Regions from separate parts of the Homo sapiens genome. Here all the other regions are linked to region 1. The links are contacts of gene promoters, found by promoter capture Hi-C in human tissues and cell types (Jung and others, 2019). All regions are on one chromosome and are shown on one strand. Each heading gives the region's core, a stretch centred on a gene start or on the middle of the fragment in contact. The rest is flanking DNA. Distances are from core to core; before and after follow the strand shown. Region 1 holds the start of NRG3 (neuregulin 3). Region 2 overlaps NRG3 (neuregulin 3). Region 3 overlaps NRG3 (neuregulin 3). Region 4 has its middle 41 kb from the start of NRG3.

The links. Contacts are between HindIII fragments. The study calls those that stand out against the background at their distance.
Region 2: a contact is called between a fragment that was not itself captured here and the fragment with the promoter of NRG3 in region 1, in 3 of the 25 tissues and cell types used here (adrenal gland, hippocampus and small bowel).
Region 3: a contact is called between a fragment that was not itself captured here and the fragment with the promoter of NRG3 in region 1, in 2 of the 25 tissues and cell types used here (hippocampus and neural progenitor cells).
Region 4: a contact is called between a fragment that was not itself captured here and the fragment with the promoter of NRG3 in region 1, in 2 of the 25 tissues and cell types used here (hippocampus and liver).

The regions. Positions count from the first base shown.
Region 1 is chr10:81,873,806-81,876,505 of GRCh38, forward strand. NRG3 (neuregulin 3) reads left to right here and starts at 1,389. Exons shown (of 9, transcript NM_001010848.4): 1 at 1,389-2,358. The coding sequence starts at 1,536. LOC124902549 (a long non-coding RNA gene) reads right to left here and starts at 713. Exons shown (of 2, transcript XR_007062377.1): 1 at 544-713. RefSeq lists an enhancer at 2,338-2,700. The HindIII fragment of the contact is 10,350 bases long and covers 1-2,700 here.
Region 2 is chr10:81,918,259-81,920,958 of GRCh38, forward strand. All of the region lies in intron 1 of NRG3 (neuregulin 3), which reads left to right. Among named protein-coding and RNA genes, the nearest start is that of NRG3, 44 kb to the left of the region's middle. The HindIII fragment of the contact is 6,280 bases long and covers 1-2,700 here.
Region 3 is chr10:81,934,945-81,937,644 of GRCh38, forward strand. All of the region lies in intron 1 of NRG3 (neuregulin 3), which reads left to right. Among named protein-coding and RNA genes, the nearest start is that of NRG3, 61 kb to the left of the region's middle. The HindIII fragment of the contact is 3,968 bases long and covers 1-2,700 here.
Region 4 is chr10:81,832,596-81,835,295 of GRCh38, forward strand. No RefSeq gene overlaps it. Among named protein-coding and RNA genes, the nearest start is that of NRG3, 41 kb to the right of the region's middle. The HindIII fragment of the contact is 5,275 bases long and covers 1-2,700 here.

The sequences.
Region 1 (2,700 bases), core at 139-2,638:
TACACAGGTGCCTCCCCAGCCAAGGGAAGAAAGCAGTAACGGAATTTGGGAGTCCAACCCCAAATCCTTTCATATTTACCTCTCACAAACACTTGCCTTGTAACGTGTGTACCTGTGCGTACATTTACAGGTAAAGACAATATTTTAAGGCAAGTTCACATAAATGGCTTGGAGATATCTGACAGGTCTGATTATACAAAGGTCTTCTGCTCCACCTGCATCTCTCAGGAACTCAGGCAAAGGTGGCCTTCCATCCAGCCGCACCGCCATCCGGCAGGGGAGGGCACAGGCACCCTCCCACCCGCATCCGCCCCCGCCCCCTCGCCCAGCAGCGTCAGTCTCTGACCCCACTGGATCCGTACAGGAGACGACTCACAATCGGTCGGAAGCTGCTTTTGCCCCCCCACCCCACCGCAAACGGGGGTTTGCTTGGATCATTTATCTATCTTGTGTGCATTAAGAAACCAGCATTAGCTGCTAGTGGGAGGCGCTACTCTGCCCGAATCCCAGCCCGCCGCGGCGATTCTGCACACACACACGCACCAGCCTGGCAGCCAGAGCCCGTCTGGAGACGCCCTCAGCCCGGGGTCTGCGTTCCCCGGGACCCCCGACGCAGTCTCCCGCTTCCGTCCCCCACGCTCAACCGGGCAGGGCGCCGGGGCGTGATTTCCGATCCTCTGCCTGCTTGTTGGGTCCCTCGGAGGCGGGTCAGACCGCACCCGCCGCGGGCGCCCGGTGCGCCCCCAGCCCCTGGCTCGCGGCGGCGACAGCGGCGCTGTTCGCTGGAGTTTGACTCTCCGGCGGCGGCGGCAGCGGCGCGCAGCAGCGAACGGCTGGAGCAAGGCGAGCCGGGCCGCTAGCCCTCCGCGCTGCGCTGGGATTGGTCTCTCCAGAAGAGTGCTGGCCGAGGGTTGGCTGCGGGCCGGCTGAAGAACAGGTGCACCTCACCGCCCGGGCTCGCGGAGCAGCCGCCGAAGATCGCGGCGGCCAGGCAGGCCCTCTGTGTCGGAATGCGGGTGGCGGGCACCCGGCACCCCGCGACCGGCCGCCGGGGCCACTGAAGGCGGCGCGAGGCCCAGGCGCGGCGCGAGCGGGCGCCCCAGGGAGCGGGCTGGGCGCGGTGCCCCGAGGATGTCGGCGCTCCTGGAGCGCACGCAGGCGGCGGGCAGCAGCAGCAGCAGCGGGCGCGGGGACCCGGCGCGCAGGAGGCGGCTTGGAGGGCTGCAGACGCGCCCCGCCGCTCTCTGACCGACCGGAGGCGCCGGGGGCCCGTCTCGCCCCTCTTCCGAGCTCCTTACCGCCCCCTCCCCGGCCCCGTCCCCTCCCCCGCTCCTCTCCTCCCCGCCCGCCGCCCGCCTCTCGGGGGGAGGGGCGTGGGGGCAGGGAGCGGATTTGCATGCGGCCGCCGCGGCCGCTGCCTGCGCCCGAGCCCGCCGCCGCCGCCGGAGCCCGCGCCCGCGCCCGCGCCCGGCCCGCGCGGCCCCATGCCTCTGCCGCGGCCCTCGGGGGGGCGAAGGTGAAGACCGGCTCCTAGGATGAGTGAAGGGGCGGCCGCTGCCTCGCCACCTGGTGCCGCTTCGGCAGCCGCCGCCTCGGCCGAGGAGGGCACCGCGGCGGCTGCGGCGGCGGCAGCGGCGGGCGGGGGCCCGGACGGCGGCGGCGAAGGGGCGGCCGAGCCCCCCCGGGAGTTACGCTGTAGCGACTGCATCGTGTGGAACCGGCAGCAGACGTGGCTGTGCGTGGTACCTCTGTTCATCGGCTTCATCGGCCTGGGGCTCAGCCTCATGCTTCTCAAATGGATCGTGGTGGGCTCCGTCAAGGAGTACGTGCCCACCGACCTAGTGGACTCCAAGGGGATGGGCCAGGACCCCTTCTTCCTCTCCAAGCCCAGCTCTTTCCCCAAGGCCATGGAGACCACCACCACTACCACTTCCACCACGTCCCCCGCCACCCCCTCCGCCGGGGGTGCCGCCTCCTCCAGGACGCCCAACCGGATTAGCACTCGCCTGACCACCATCACGCGGGCGCCCACTCGCTTCCCCGGGCACCGGGTGCCCATCCGGGCCAGCCCGCGCTCCACCACAGCACGGAACACTGCGGCCCCTGCGACGGTCCCGTCCACCACGGCCCCGTTCTTCAGTAGCAGCACGCTGGGCTCCCGACCCCCGGTGCCAGGAACTCCAAGTACCCAGGCAATGCCCTCCTGGCCTACTGCGGCATACGCTACCTCCTCCTACCTTCACGATTCTACTCCCTCCTGGACCCTGTCTCCCTTTCAGGATGCTGCCTCCTCTTCTTCCTCTTCTTCCTCCTCCGCTACCACCACCACACCAGAAACTAGCACCAGCCCCAAATTTCGTAAGTAAACACTGTGTCTCAACTATGATTTACTACTGAGTTTCCCTTCTGCCCTCCTGCTGTCTTTTTCCCTCGCCGCCTGTTTTCTAGCAAGCCCCCTCCCCCATCCCAGGTTTGGGGCAGAGTGAGAGCTGATTAAAACTGGCCACCAGCGGGGAAGAAGGTGCCAGCCTGCTCTGGTTCTGGGGGGGTGGGGGCGTGTAGGAACGGGAGGGAGATTGTCAGGCTCCACTGGCCCCACTTTAGCGGGTCCCAAGTGAGAACAGATCTCCCAACTCCCTTCAAAGGGTTAACGCGAGTGCGATCCCTCCTCACTGCAGACCTGCTGGCGAGCTGCCGGAT
Region 2 (2,700 bases), core at 121-2,620, 44 kb after region 1:
TGTATTTGGAATGTTTCTTTATAGGTCAAGGACTAGTTTCCCAGTGAATTGATTTAAAGAACTGCAGTCCTCTGACTCAGGCTTGAATTCACATATGATATTGGCCATTTGGGATATCTCTCTGTTATATGGGCAGAGTAAACACAAGTATAAATCTGTGACAACATTTTGGATTTCTCAGATCAGGTACTCCATCATCTGCTTTTTATCACGTACAAAAGAAATACAAGGCCATTTATTTCCCTATTACCCTGTGTTCTGGATTTTTCTATTTATAAATGATATTTTATATGCTCTGTTTAGCAGTTAGTAATGAAGCATAAAGGGAAGCCATTTTAATTAATGCCTTATTTGCATGTGTAGCATGCACCTCTTTTCTTTGATATTATTGGAAAATTATTTTAAATTCAGTCAAAAGAAGATGCTTTAGGCAAATGAGGACTTGCTGATAGAGAGCTGTATTATTTTATTTTACTAATGAAATGCTGTTAATTTTTTCTCTGTATTTTACCTGCTGCAACTGGTTTCCTTGACTTTGTTCATACTACTAGGATTTTTGCAAAAAACAAAAACAAACACAAAACTGGCCATAAGCATTGAATAGAATCATTGCAATTTTCTGTCAAACGAGTTTTGAAATACATCTGGTGTTTAACAACACATTGCTTATTTATTTATTTATTTCAAATCATTAACTACTATTGCATCATAACAAAACACACACACACACACACACATACATACACACACACACACACACAGCTTTGGTTCAATTATACTATATAGCCCTCCTGTTTCCATTGTGTTTGGGGGAAGTAAATGTAATAAATATTTTTAAATTCAGTAACCCATCTGTTGAATTCTTGTTGGAATTAACTGAGAGTTTGTATGGAAAAGGCTTAGCCTAGAACTTCATATGTATGGGACTAGGGGATAGAGCACTTGAAGGGATGGCATGGGCCCCAGGGCTGAAAAGAAGTGCTGAGTTAGGATAGGATATAAGAATATATAAGAATAGGATATAAGTGTGGCAGCGCTGAAAATCAGATGGACATTGCTTCAAAACCGAGCGTCGACACTTGATCTGATCTGCCTCTTAAACCTCTTTGAACGTCTCCTCCCTAATCTGTGATGGCAGAATGGTAATACTTATTTTGAAGTTGTGTCAGGATTGGTAGCAGCGTGCAGAGATTACAGCATGTATTATGAACTCATAAATAACATTGCCTGGGGTGTTATTTTCATTAACTTCATCATCATCATCATCATCAAATATAATCCATTGCTTCAAAGAATTTATAGTCTAGTAAGGGATAAAAAGATTGTGTGTTTGTATTAAAGATGGGGTGGAATTCTTATTAAGTATCAATTTCATTGCCAACATGGACATGGCAAATGACAGGTTCCCCCAAAAATTATTGAGGGAAACTGAGATTAGATATTGAGGAGATTTTGGGACACCAAAACCAAGGCAAATGAAGCACTAAGGCACTCGACAAAATGAGACACCCATGAATGTCCAGAGGTATCACCTCAGAAGTTGGTCTGAGGGGCAATTACACAAGCAGAGCTGAGCAGAAACAGTGGCAATGAGGGGTGAGTGCAGCCAACCAGGAAACCTGCCGTCAATTGTGTTTTATTCTTGGCAAGGCCTTATTTGAAGTTTTCTTTCTTGATTTTGTTCTTCCCCGCTACTGCTAGCCACATCTGACAGATACACTAATATACGAAAAATTAAATAACAATAAAAATAACTTTATAAGACGTGCCTCAAGGCAGAATGAATATCAAGTACCAGATGATGATGGAAAGAATTCTGCTGGAGTTCAGTGGACACAGCTGTCTTATGGCCTGAGGTGTAAGGATGACACTATGAGAAAGGGAGCCTTGACTTCACTTTTGAAGAAGTGTGCAGGGAGCACGCTGGGAAAAGGAGGGCTGGAAAAGAGATGAGATCTTGCTGGATCAACTGAAGCACCTGCCACCTGCTTGGCAGGACAGGAAATCTTAAAGTCAATGCTCCTCACCCTTAGCACCCTGCAACCAAAAAGAAAATTCGAAGGGTTCCTCACTCTATTTGATTGGAGTTTTGAAGAATCTGTGGCATCGATTCCTGGTGCTTTGCTGCCCAGGCACCCCTAATCTTAGCCCCCACCACTAGGGGGCCTCCCTCTAGTCTCCTTCCTTCTAAGCATTGATCACAGCCCACTCAGGTTTAATAAGCATGACTATCCATGTCTAAAAAAAAAATGATACTTTATGACATCAATTTGTTGTGAACTTTTCAAGCTTTTCTTCCCAAATAGCATATGGATATTCAATTTGGAAAATTTTGATATAGGTTTAAACAAAATCAAATTCAAATAATCTGTAATTATGCCAACCCCAGAAAGCTAATGCTTTTGCTTATTTTTAGATATACTTCCAAATTTATAATATTATGAATAGTAGTACACGTCAGTAAGTACACATCTTATTTCACAAAACATGGGCTCACATTTTTCTAATTCATCTTATTCACTTAATGTTTTGTGAACATTTTTCCTTGTTATACATCTACTTCAGTAACATTTTTTACAATCTGAACAGAAATTAATTGTATAGAACAGAACAGGATTCCTTTGTTCATTTTTATATATGTTTCTTCTAATGTTTTTCTCATAACCTAATATGAAAGTGATAGGTTGTGGCTACATGTTT
Region 3 (2,700 bases), core at 167-2,666, 61 kb after region 1:
AGAGGCCTTCACTCCAGAAGTAGATTCCAAAACACATGTTGCAATGAATAGAACTACTTTGTATTTCACCCAAAACATTTAAGCCATGGCTGTTTATTACATTGTGTTATTTTATTCATGGATTAAAGCTTTGGAATTTGGTAAAGGAAAAGATTCCCAGAGACTGCTATTGAAATTTCCTAGTACCCTTTGGTTTAAAGTGTAGAGGAACAATTTTCCAGATAAATATGGAATTCGCTTTTTTATGTTGTTCTTTAGAGAGCTTTAGCCTATTTGGCACTAAGTATAATTATCTGCAAATATGAGTTTGTTTGGCAAGATATTCATGTGTCCTTAGGTATTAATATGTCATTTTGGGGAAAAAATAACTCAATGGAGTTCTGTCATTATATGAATAATTTGTGATGAGTAATTTCCTAAGCAACATCAGAAGCACCAGATGACGATTTTTGTTTTTAGTTTGCAAAATGCATTTATTGTATAAGGATGAAAGGTAAGTAAGGAAAAGATAGGTTTTAGTAGCTGAGAAACTTTAGAGTCAGGTTATACTTAGGTGGATTTAATTGCCATACTTTGTTATAGTGGCTAAAGTAGCCCATTTGTCATCTGTGACCTATTTCAGGGAACAACAACAACAACAACAACAAAGAAACTGTGGATAACATCACCCCCTCCCCACCTTTGTTGTTCTTCTTGATGCCTATTTGACAGAAGGATTGAGCACTTTCTGTTTCTGTTGCATGGGCCACTCTCTCTGAGACTTCTCCCACAGTATTCATATCCCTGCTTCAGGACCACCTCCTCTGAGGAGCCTTCCTGACCAACCTGTATAACCCTTTGTTACACAACCCTTTGTTCCTCCTTGGAGTCACTTTCACTGTCCAGCTTCTCAATTTACCCAGCTTTTTTTCATTATACTTTTCAGTGCCTGAACACACACACACACACACACACACACACACACACACACACACACACACAGTTTCCTGTGTTAAAATGGTTAAAATGTCAGCTCTCTGGGGGGAAGGAACTGGTTTGTCTTACCCAGTGTTATGTCCCCAATTGCACAGCAGTGGCGTGTTTCAGTTATGGTCCTGCCTGTGTTCACCATGTAAGTGGGCAGACATGATAGAAGGAGATCTATTATACTTCCTTGTGTTATGTGCCTATGGAATAGAGGGAACAGTGGAGAAAGTGAATAATTATACCTGGGACCTGGGGAAAAAACTGAAATGAGAACTGACATGTTAATATATGTCAAAAGATTGAGAAGAGGCTGGGGAGAAATATAAGAAAGGAGAATTTCACTCGGAGTAACTTGGATAAAATCTCTGAGTTTGAAAAGAGTATGGAACATTCAAGAAACAGTGAACCAAACTGTGATTGGAGTTCTATTCCCAACAGTTGCATAAGGGAAACTGAAATGAGGTGGGTCTGGAGAGGTAGCTTAGAATTAGGTTTTGAAGGAGTCTCTGTAGGTTACTAAGCATGATCAGCTTGGTGTTTTATGACTGTATTCTGATAACTGTGAAAGATGGATGGGAGGGAAGCAGGAAAGGGGTCAGGAAGTAGACAGTGTAAGTGAGGATGGTTGTGTGTACAGAAGTGAGTGGGAGAACCACAGATGGCTCACAAGAGAACATGTGAGAGAGACCCTGTGTCAGCTACAGTTTGTATTAGTTGGTTGATTAGGGATATTATTTTGGTTTTGCTCCGTAAGGTGGTTGGGGCCGAAGCTCTTTCTAACTCACCACCCTGCTATAGTCAGGGTATGGGCCTTGCTGTCATGGTCCAAAATGGTGATTAGTGCTTTACCCTCCACATCTGTTCTAGGCAGCATGAGGGTAGGGTCCAAAAGATGAGGGGAGGGGAAGCCATGTGTAAATTGTGTTTAAAAAATTATTATAAAAAACACATAAAAAATTAATCATCATGTCATGTGTACAGTACACTAATGTTGACTCTATGCACATTGTTGTGCAACAGATCTCTACAACTTTTCCATCTTTTGCAGAACTGAACCTCAGTTCCCTTTGAAAAGTTAGACTACTTTAGATAACTCACAAACATGAAATCGTGAAACATTTGTCTTTCTGTGGCTGGCTTATTTCGCTTCACATAATGTCCTCAAGGTTCATCCATGTTGTAGCATATAACAGGATTTTCTTCTTTTTTAAGGCTGAACGAATTCTATTGTATGCATAGAAAACGTGTTCTTTAACCATTCATCCACGGATGGACATTTAGGTTGCTTCCACCTCTTGGCTATTGTGAGTAATGCTGCAGTGAACATGGGTGTGCAAATGTCTCCTTGAGGTCCTGTTTTCAGTTCTTTTGAATATATACTCAGGAATGGGATAGCTAGAGGATATGGGTAATTTATTTATTTTTTTTGAAGAACCTCCGTATGTTTCCATAGCAGCTACACCATTTTACATTCACAACAGTGCACAAGGGTTCCAATTTCTCCACATTCTTACCAACATTTATTATTATTATTATTTTTAATAATGGCCATGATATCTCATTGTGGTTTTGATTTGCATTTCTCTAAAGATTAGTGATGTTGATAATCTTTTAATATGCTTGTGGGCCATTTGGATATCTTCTTTGGAAAGGTATTTATTCAAGTTGTTTGCACATTTTTTATGGAGTTATTTTGTTGTTGTTGAGTTGTAGGAGTTCTTTATATGTTCTGGA
Region 4 (2,700 bases), core at 85-2,584, 41 kb before region 1:
TTTAATGAGAGAGAGTGGAAGCTAGATTCCAAAGGAATGGAGAATAGGAAAGCTCCGAGTATGCAAGGACAGCCAGCAAGATCTCCCAATTCGGAAGTCCTGGGGTAAAAGAAAAATGAGATGGTAATGATGGTAGCTCCAAACAGTATGAGAATTGCAGGAAAATGTTTATGAAATTAGAGGAGCTTTCAGCCTTTCAGCAGAAAGAAAGCAAGATAGTTCTTTTTAAGACACCCTTTTTCATTGTTGAATTTATTTAAAACTATTGCTTTTTTCCTTATTATGCTATATAATTCATTACATTTTCAGCAGTAGTTATTAAAGAAATCAGTTTTAAGGACATGTTGGGATGTGCACTAACTTACTTTCTGCTAACTCTTCTGCTGACGCTGTAATCTGCTTGAAACTAATTCAATCTAATTCCGTAGAATGGATTATACTAGAAGAAGATAAATTGATTTTTTAAAGAAAAAGAAAGACCTGGAAAAGTGAATGGCAAACACATTTTTTTTTCACTCAGCAATATCCGGTTAGCTGTAACTGATGTTTGTTATTGCAATAGATCTTGAAATCCTGCCTTAAAAACTTTAATGGGATTAGTGGATCAGTGAGTGTTATTTAAGGTTTTGCCTCATTTACTGTGATTTAGGAAGCAAGATGTACAACAGACAAATCCTAGGCACTTTATGAATGGTGCTGCCACCTAAGGCATACAGCTAGCCAATATTCATAGTGTGATATTTTATAATTTTTCCCTGATATGTGTATTTTGTGTCTATATATGTGTGTAATAAAAGTGCTTTGAGGATTGCAAAGCACTTTTAAAAAATGTTTTTACTTTATTTACTATAAATGCTGTACTCTAGATGAGCTACTTGACCAAAACTATTGAGCCACTTAGTTGATGATCAGATTTTTTTTCAGTAAATAAAGCTCTCTGAATTAATTAATCAAAGAATGTCACAGAAGAACATTCATGGCAATTTTTGTTTTAAACCTGAGGTTCGCAAGAAAGGCTATCAAACCATGAAGCAATCTTTGAAATAGTAACAATAATTATAATATAAAATATGTTGTAACAGTTTTTAATTTTAAAATAATGTATTCATTATATGTTTACATGTTTTATACTCATGTCTACAAAATGAAAATGAAGCTTTAATGGATAAAAAGCCTTACTAAGCTTGGGCGAAACATCAAGGAAACATAGAATAGCACTAATCACTTATCTGAACTATGCACCTTTATACACATCACACATTTAGCAAATAGTCCTTTCTAAGGAGGCAAAATCAACGCTGTTTTTTTTGTTTGTTCGTTTGTCATTGTTGTTGTTTTTGGAGACAGAGTCTTGCTCTGTCACGCAGGAGTGCAGTGTGCAGTGGCGTGATCTTGGCTCTCTGCAACCTCCAGTTCCCGCATTCAAGTGATTCTAGTCCCTCAGCCCCAAGTAGCTGGGATTACAGGGATGCACTACCACACTAGGCTAATTTTTTGTACTTTGAGTAGAGACCGAATTTTGCTATGTTGGCCAGGCTGGTCTCAACTGATCTCAACTCCTGGCCTCAAATGATCTGCCCTCCTCAGCCTCCCAAAATGCTGGGATTACAGGAATGAGCCACACCATCAGGCCCAATGCTGTTATTTTATTGGCTTTTCTTCATCTGCAAAAGTGTGAAGAAGAAATTAAAATGAGTAAAGGGATGCAGGAAAAGTCTTCCCAAACTGAAAAATAAAGTCAGTTCTTATACAACATTTACCAATGGCTACAACTTGTCTACATTTTTATTAGGCACACTCTTCAAAATGGTGACTCGAACTGTTGAAAGCAACAATCATACAATAGCTATCATTCTGACAGTATGGAAATCAGTTTGAAATTTCTGTAAAACATTACACTTACATGTCATATTTGTGTGACAAACCTCTGTTAAATGCTTGCAAGTTTGTAGAATGGTTTATCCACACTATCACATTTAACATTGATTCTGTGAGAGGGGGCTTATTTTGACCATTTCCAGACAGGAAGCAGGTACTGAGAGGTGTCAGAAGTGGTAAAACCTGAATTTTCCATTCAGGCTTACTGTCTCCCAGGCAAGGGTTCTCAAAAAGCATCTTTGTGTGGGGGTATGAAAGAGATTAGAGATCATACGGATATAAATTCAAGTCTTAATTCCAACACCTGACAGGTAACTTTGCAAGCTTTGCTACAAGTATTGTTAAGCTCTCTGAACGTTCTTTGCTGTAAGGTTCTTGTGAGGCTTAAATGAGATAATGTTTATGAAAGCACCTTGTAAGTATTAATTTTCTATCAAAATGTTAACAGTTGTGATGTATTTGCCAAAAGAAAGCTGTACTGATATTTGGAATGGACTTGTGGGAATGATTTTAATGGGAAATAAATTGCCTGTGAAACAGTCCCAATCACGAATGCAAATCCTGCTGGCAAATGTGGCAGAGCCTGGAAAAGACACATTCAGATATTGTCTCCTTATCCCTCTAATGTCTCTGTGACTAAGGGAGTGTAGCAGCTGCTGCTATTACTATCACTGTCATAATCGTTATTTTTAAACTATTGATGGAAAACCCAAGAACAGGAAAGTGTGATGTGCATCTGTCTGTGGTGTGTTTGAAGAGTGTTTACGTGTCTGTGTAAGTTTTAACTCAATGCCCCTAGTACATAGAAAACACTCAACAAAT